Linked DNA regions of Homo sapiens: region 2 is linked to region 1. Evidence: promoter capture Hi-C in 16 types of primary human blood cells and fetal thymus (Javierre and others, 2016). All regions are on one chromosome and are shown on one strand. The core of a region is centred on a gene start or on the middle of the fragment in contact, and the rest is flanking DNA. Distances in the headings are between cores, read along the strand shown.

The links. Contacts are between HindIII fragments. The CHiCAGO score rates a contact against its expected background, and 5 or more counts as called.
Region 2: a contact is called between a fragment that was not itself captured here and the fragment with the promoter of MAPK1 in region 1, in 3 of 17 cell types (M0 macrophages, endothelial precursors and M2 macrophages). The highest score is 6.2, in M0 macrophages.

The regions. Positions count from the first base shown.
Region 1 is chr22:21,866,395-21,870,544 of GRCh38, forward strand. MAPK1 (mitogen-activated protein kinase 1) reads right to left here and starts at 1,251. Exons shown (of 9, transcript NM_002745.5): 1 at 928-1,251. The coding sequence starts at 1,046. RefSeq lists a silencer at 1,182-1,421. The HindIII fragment of the contact is 41,836 bases long and covers 1-4,150 here.
Region 2 is chr22:21,710,928-21,715,003 of GRCh38, forward strand. All of the region lies in intron 1 of YPEL1 (yippee like 1), which reads right to left. Among named protein-coding and RNA genes, the nearest start is that of YPEL1, 23 kb to the right of the region's middle. RefSeq lists enhancers at 1-315, 2,684-2,733 and a silencer at 2,942-3,100. The HindIII fragment of the contact is 3,252 bases long and covers 859-4,076 here.

The sequences.
Region 1 (4,150 bases), core at 1-2,500:
AAAAAAAACCGTCACTATCATTTCACTTTTCTAAGGGACCTGAATCAAGATGAGGGAGTCTACGTGTGATTCTGCAAGAACTCCATTAAGGCTGCATACATAATGACCACTAAATCATTAACAGGAGTCCATAGCAATTGGGCTAAAACATCTGGGAGCATTTATGCTGGTAAAAGAGCTCACTTGGGGGCTAAAAAAAAAGTCAAATTAGGCCCAACTCTAAACGGATCTTTAACAAATCAAGAGAGTAATGTTAGTTTATCCTTCCTGAAACGCCAGCAGTACGATATTAAAATCCACTTAGAAGTAAAAACTTCAAGACGGAAATATGCCACCAACACTGGCGTCAGTAATCCATTTTAGAAAGCCTGCGCGGAGACCACCATTAGCACCGCTGAGGATATTTAATGAAAGCCGTTGGCTGCAAACAGAGGCGAAGAGAGAAAAACGATTATTTCGGTGTTCTGCACACACGCGGAGGCAAAACGCTTTCAGGACCTCAGCAGCCACCGCCGCCAACACCGACAAGCATCTGATGGAATTCACAGTTTTACAATCGAAAGTCCAAAAGAAGGCCATGATACTAGCAAATTGAGGGGTGGGGACCCTTCCGTTGCCTTCCCGAGGGTCCAGACTTTAAAGGCCGCGCTGCGCCCGGGGCCAAGGGTCCACTAGTACCGGCCTACGCCCCCCGCGCCACTCCCTGAGCCCCTTCCCGAGCGACCGAAGGCCCGGGAACCGCGAGCAACAACACCTAAACCTCAACCGGCCCGGGGCCGCGCCCGAGCCCTGGCGCGCGGACCGCGGTGAAGTCCGGGTTCGAGGTCGCCGCGGCGCCTGAGGCCGAGGCGCGGGCGAGGCCGAGGCTGCGTCCGCTGCGGCCCCGGGCGGTGGGGGGGCCGGGCGTGGCCGGTCGCGGACACTCACCACACCATGCCGTAGGCGCCCTCGCCGATGTACGAGAGGTTGGTGTAGCGCGGCCCCACGTCGAACACCTGCCCGCGGACCATCTCCGGGCCCGCGCCCGCCGCCGCCGCCGCCGCCATGTTGGCTGCCGGGCCGCCGCCGCCTCCGCCGCGCTGAGCTCGACGCTCGGCGGCCGCCGCTCAGCTCTTGTCGCCCCTCCCGCAGGGACTGCGCCGCCGCCGGTGCAGCCGCCGACGCTGACCGGGAGGAGGAAGGAAGACGCCGAGCGGGAGAGCTGAAGAGCCGACAGCCACTCGGACCGATTGCCTGCCTGCCTGCCAGACTGACGGGCGGGCCGGCGGGCGGGCGGAGGGAGGGGCGCGCGCCGAGGAGGGTGCCGGGGCGGGGACAAGAAGTGTGCATGCGGATTGGTTCCTCGCGGCTGGGGGCGGGGCCGCGCGGGCCGGCGGAAGCGGCGGGCTTCGGGAGGGGCACTGCGACGGCGTTGACTGAGGGGGCGCCACTAGGCGCGGTCACGTGCATTCGCGGTGCATTCGCGGGGGCGTCGGTGCGGGTCGCGTCTCTTAAGACACCCAGGGAGACAGACGTGGGGCAGAACTCATGGGCTGAAGTGAGAGATGGCTGGGGCCCAGGCGAGCGACCGAGCAGGGTCCGAACAGAGCCAGCGAGGGACCCCGGGCTGTGCTTGAGGCCCGACGACGCGCCATATCCCGGCAGCGCCGCAGCTCAGGCCTCTGCGAATCTGTGGTCCACACGCTGATAAACTTAGAGGCCTCTGCACTGGGGCAGAAACCGAAAGGCATGACCCAGACCGAGAAAGATATTTGCATACTGAGAAAGTGTGAAACACAATTGTCGAGACTAAAAGGAGACACTGAGAGGATACGCCAATCAGGTTAGTTCAGATGTTTGTTGAGCACACTCCATGTTCCTGGGGATCCACCCTTATAGAAGTTACCTTTTAGAGAGAGGAGACAGACAAATACGTGTAATGCTCAAGTTGTGATAAGTACGATGAAGAAGTACAAAGCAGAAGGGAGGGCGCGGTGTCTCACGCCTATCATCCCAGCACTTTGGGAGGCCGAGGCGGGCGGATCACTTGAGGTCAGGAGTTTGAGACCAGGTCTCTACTAAAAATACAAAAATTAAGTCCGGGCGAGGTGGCTCACGCCTGTAATCCTAGCACTTTGGGAGGCCGAGGCGGGCGGATCACGAGGTCAGGAGTTCAAGACCAGCCTGGCCAACATGGCGAAACCCTGTCTCTACTAAAAATACAAAAATTAGCCGGGCGCAGTGGTGGGCGCCTGTCATCCCAGCTACTTGGGAGGCTGAGGCAGGAGGACAAAGCAGAGAGTAAGGGATTAGGGGGTGGTGGGTCGAAACACATGAGAGATACATTTGCGTTCAGAGACAGACCGAGATTGGTACAGATAGGCAGAAATGCTGACAGAGCAGGTAATGAAATAGAAATGCAAAGATAGAGTCACTAAAACCAAAACATCGAGGTTTAGAGAAAAAGAGACACACCAGGTTAAGAAACAGTCACAAACAACAGAGGTTGAAAAAATAAAAATTAGAGTCCTGAAGCAGGTGGATACCAAGGAAAGCTAAGACAACGAGACGGACAATGACCCAGGCACTGCTTCTGAACCTTTTCCCCTGCCATGTTTGGAGGGAGAAGGAAGAGCGGCAGACCCTATATCCTCTTTGTTCAACTCTTCCAAGTTTAAAACCATCAACTCTTGACTTCTAGACATCAACAAAGATTAATTAGTCAATCTCAAAGGAGAATAAACAAAGTTTTTTGTTTGTTTGTTTGTTTAACTCTCTGGTGGAAGCTGGTGTGGTGGCTCACGCCTGTAATCCCAACTTGGGCCCAAGAATTCAAGACTAGCCTGGGCAACACAGCAATACCCTGTCTCTAAAACAGAGAAACAAACAAACAAAAAATCCTGTGGGGGAAAAAGGATGTGACACATGAGAAAAGGAATAAACTGCTCCAGCCAAAATTTACTCCTTCAAAATATATTTAGCCCATGAAGCAGGACCCAATTTTAGAAAATACCTAATTCTTGAGTTAATGGGTGCAGCACACCAGCATGGCACATGTATACATATGTAACTAACCAGCACATTGTGCACATGTACCCTAAAACTTAAAGTATAATAATAATAATAAAAAGAAAATACCTAATTCTTATTCTCAAAAGAGGACATTGCATATTTTTTTAAAAAACAGGCCAAGATAAATGGAGTACCATGAAATTAAAACCACAATAACCGGCCGGGCGCGGTGGCTCACGCCTGTAATCCCAGCACTTTGGGAGGCGGAGGAGGGCAGATTGCCCAAGCTCAGAAACTGGGGACCAGCCTGGGCAACATGGTGAAACCCCGTCTCTACTAAGATACAAAAAATTAGCTGGGCCTGCCGGTGTGCCTGTAGTCCCAGCTACTCGGGAGGCTGAGGCAGGAGAATTGCTTGAACTCGGGAGGCAGAGGTTACAGTGAGCTGAGATCGCGCCACTGCACTCCAGCCTGGGCCACAGAGTGAGACTCCGTCTCAAAAAAAAAAAAAAAAAAGAGGCCGGGTGCGGTGGCTCACGCTTGTAATCCCAGCACTTTGGGAGGCCGAGATGGGCGGATCACAAGGTCAGGAGATCGAGACCATCCTGGCTAACATGGTGAAACCTCGTCTCTACTAAAAATACAAAAAAAAAAAAAAAAAAAATTAGCCGGGCGTGGTGGCGAGTGCCTGTAGTCCCACCTACTCCGGAGGCTGAGACAGGAGAATGGCGTCAACCCGGGAGGCGGAGCTTGCAGTGAGCCGAGGTCACGCCACTGCACTCCAACCTGGGTGACAGAGCAAGACTCCGTCTCAAAAAAAAAAAAAAAAAAAGTAGACTTGATGCAGAAGAGTACATCAGCAATATAGAAGATAAACATGAGAAAATTTTCAAGAATATAGAACAAAGTGATGGAATCCTGTAAGAGAAGATAATGGGGATGGACAGCATCTAGGGATTCTAACTCTAGGCATCCCCACAGGAAGACAGAGCAAATCGGTTAGAGCGAATAATCAAAATTACAATAGGAGAAAAGTTTCCTTAGGTTGCAAAAAGGTCTGAGGTGGAGGTGGGAAATAGAGTGGGTTCACTGAGATTGAGAAAAATTAAGAAGAAACCAACAACACATAATCTGGGAAAATCATTAAGTTTCAGGGATA
Region 2 (4,076 bases), core at 1,235-3,734, 150 kb before region 1:
AGTGGTGGGTTACAGAGAGAACATGCGTGTGAAGCAGGTACATATGGGATTCATGTGTTGTGAAGCAACACGCGGGGTGGGGGGGTGGCAGGACTAGAATTTTTTTTTTTTTTTGAGATGGAGTCTCACTCTGTTGCCCAGGCTGGAGTGCAGTGGCGCAATCTCAGCTCGCTGCAACCTCCTCCTCCTGGGTTCAAGCGATTCTTCTACCTCAGCCTCTGAGTAGCTGGGATTACAGGAACACGCCACCAAGCCTGGCCTCCCAAAGTGCTGGGATTACAAGCACCACTGCGCCTGACCAAGATCCAACTCTTTAGTATCAATTGTAGACAAAATGAACACTGACACCATGCCACTGCTTAACCACTTTACATTTAGTTGGAAGTGAAAAAATGAACTCCTTTTACATGCAAATAATTTGAGAAAAACATTGATTCAAATTCTTCTTATACCAGGTTTGGCTTTGGAAACATGAAAGGAGAGGCAGAACCAAGACGCCCGGTGAGTGGGCCCGGTGGCAGGGCTGGATGCACCCCACCCCGAATCCGGGAATTCACCACGCAGAGCACCAGGACATTGAGGAATGTGAGTGATGGATCCAGTATTATTTAATCTTTAAGAAATTCCAGTCCTGAAATAAACCCTTATGTATGGTCACATGATCTTCAACAGGGTGTCAAGACCATTCAATGGGGAAAGGACAGTCTTTCAACAAATGGTGTCACAACAACTGGATATCCACCTGCAAAAATATAAAGTTGGACTCTTACCTAACACCGTATACAAATTAACTCAAAATAAAAGACCTAAATGTGAGAGCTAAGACTATAAAACTCTTAGAAGGAAACACAGGGGAAAAGCTTCATGACATTGGATGTGGCAATCATCTCTTGGATACGATACCAAAAGCATGGGCAGCAAAAGAAAAACAGACACATTAGACTTCGTAAAAATTCAAAACTTCTGGCTCGGTGCAGTGCTCACGCCTGTGGTCCCAGCACTTTGGGAGGCTGAGGTGGGTGGACCACTTGAGCCCAGGAACTCAAAACCAGCCTGGGCAACAAAGCAATACCTCATCTCAACTAAAAATACACAAAATTAGCTGGGTGTGGTCCCTGTGCCTGTGGTCCCAGCTACTTGGGATAGCTGAGGTGGGAGGATGGCTTGAGCCTGGGAAGTTGAGGCTCAAGTGAGCTGAGATCGTCCAACTGCACTCCAGCCTGAGCAACAGAGTGAAACCCTGTCTCTAAATAAATAAATAAAAACTTTTGTGCTTCAAAGGATACTATCAACAGAGGCAACCCAGAGAATGAGGGAAAATATTTTTAAATCATATACCTGATAAGGTGTTAATATCTAGAATACATATATTCTATATTCTCTCTATACATATTCTCTATATATCCATATTCTCTATATATCCTAGTTATTGGAATATGTAAAAAAAAAAAAAAAAAACAACTACAACTCAGCAAATCAAACAAACAGGTTAAAAAATGGATAAAGGGCCGGGTATGGGCCCGGCGTGGTGGCTCACGCCTGTAATCCCAGCATTATGGGAGGCCGAAGAAGGTGGATCACTAGGTCAGGAGATCGAGACCACCCTAGTCAACATGGCGAAACCCCGTCTCTACTAAAAATACAAAAAATTAGCCGGGCGTGGTGGCGGGTGCTTGTAGTCCCAGCTACTTGGGAGGCCGAGGCAGCAGAATTGCTTGAACCCAGGAGGCAGCGGTTGCAGTGAGCCGAGACCATATCACTGCACTCCAGCCTGGGCGACAGAGTGAGACTACATCTCAAAAAAAAAAAAAAAAGGAAAATGGATAAAGGACCTATGTATCTATATTCTCTATATATTCTAGTTGTTAGAATATGTTAAAAAAAACTCAGCAAAAAGAAACACAATCTGATTAAAAAATGGACAAAGGACCTATATATCTATATTCTATATAGTTATTAGAATATATTTAAGAAACTCCTACAACTCAACAAAACAACCCCAATCTGATTAAAAATGGACAAAGGACTTATATAAACATTTCTCCGAAGAAGATATACAGATGGCCCACAAGCACGTGAAAAGGTGCTCCATGTCACTGATCCTGAGGGAGGCAGACAAGGACCACGTTGAGACACCACCACACACCCTCTAGGACGGCTACTATCAACGCGCACACACGGAAAATAAGCGTTGGTGAGGATGTGGAGGAATTGGAGCCTTGTGCATTGAGGGTAAAAATGTAAAATGCTGGAGGCACTATGGGAAACAGTATGGTAATTCCTCAAAAAACGAAATATAGAATTACCATGGGCTCCAGCAATTCCACTGCTGGGTATAAATCCACGAGAACTGAAAACAGGGTCTCAAAGCCATGTCTGCACACCCATGCTCACAGCGACATTATCCACAACAGCCACGAGGGGGAAGCAACAGTGTGTCCCTCCACAAACGGGCATTCTCATGATCAAAATGTGGCGTCTGCATACAGTGGAATGTTATCCAGCCTTTAACAGGAGGGGGCTCCTGTCACAGCTACAGCATGGAGGAACCCTGAGGACACTATGCTCAGTGAAGTAAGCCAGTCACAAAGGACAAATATTGTATGAGGTACTTAGAGTAGTGGGACTCAGAGACAGAAAGAGCTGCCAGGGGCAGGGGAGTCCCCGCTTCATGGGTGCAGTGTTTCAGTTTTGCAACATGAAGAATTCTGGAGGTTGGAGGGTGGCGATGGCTGTACAAAAATGTGAATATATTTAATGTCACTGAACTGTACACTTAGAAATGGTTAAGATGGTAAGAGTTATGTGTACTGACTACAATTATTTTAAAGAAGAGTGTATCATTTTTACATTTCTAAGGTCTCATTAACAAAAGAAGGTTAAGTCCATGACTGATGCTGCCATCATCAGCAACAGGACGTGCGCCAAGTTTTCCTGGTGGCACCACCCCAGCCTGGCCTGTGACAAGGGGCCTGCAGAGAGTCAGGCACACCGGATTTTCTTTCAGGCCAAACAGAAGAGCAAGGGTTTCCCCAAATTCGAGAGCACGGGGCTGGGAAGAAGAGCCAAGCGCCAGCAGTGTCCTCACACCTGCTCCTCCTGAGATGCACCCCCCACCGCCCCCCACCCCATGTGACCTCTGCTCCGGCAGCAGCCTGTCCTGTGCCCTTCCATGGGATGACACCCAGGACGGCGTCTGCCCCCCACCTGCGCAGGCACGCCTGCATTAGAGGGTCACCTTCTCACATCTGGGACTGAAGATGTGTGTGGGCAGAACGCAGCGTTTGTAATCGTGTGAACGGAAGACACAAACGGCCGGTGGCGGCCACCCAGGATGGTACTGGGACCCGGTCACCACGGCGCTGCTGTGCCCTTCCTTGGTGCCCCGGCCTGAGATGCTGCCTAACTTGGACTTGGTGCTTCTTGGTCTTTGCTTGTCCTGATGGCTGTGCCCCGTGTGTGGCCCTGAGCCACACTGCTGCGTGTTCCGTGTTTTGAACTTGACACCGACGATGCTGTGAGACTTCTCTGCTGACGTGCAGCCAAGTCTGCCTCTGTCCCCATGTGCAGCTGGGCCCCCTTCACCTGGTGTCCCGTCAGATACACTGCATGCAGCCACTGACGGGGTGTGGATGTGTATCGGCTCCCAGGCTGGCTACTAAATGGTGCTGCTGTCGCTGTCACCTCTCCTGAGCCGCACAGGCAGGTGTTTCGTTGGAACAATCCCAGGAGCAGATGCCCGTGCACACAGCAGCACCTCCCAAGTGCCGGTGACAAGGTCATCCTGCCAGCAGCGAACATGAGTCCCTGCTGATCTTTATCCCGCCAACTTGATATGGTCAAATTTTAACACTTCTGCTGCCTGGCAGGTATAAGGCAGCAGCATCTCATTGTGGCTTTAATTTGCTTCAACCTGACCATACAGGTGGGCACCTTTTATGATTCCTCCTTTTCAAATCTTTGTCACATTTTCTATTAGCTGCTGGTCCTTTCCTTACTGATTCGTAGGAGTAAGTGATATATTCTGAAAACTAAAGCATACATTAAGCCATATCGGTCGTGGAATGATAAGCATT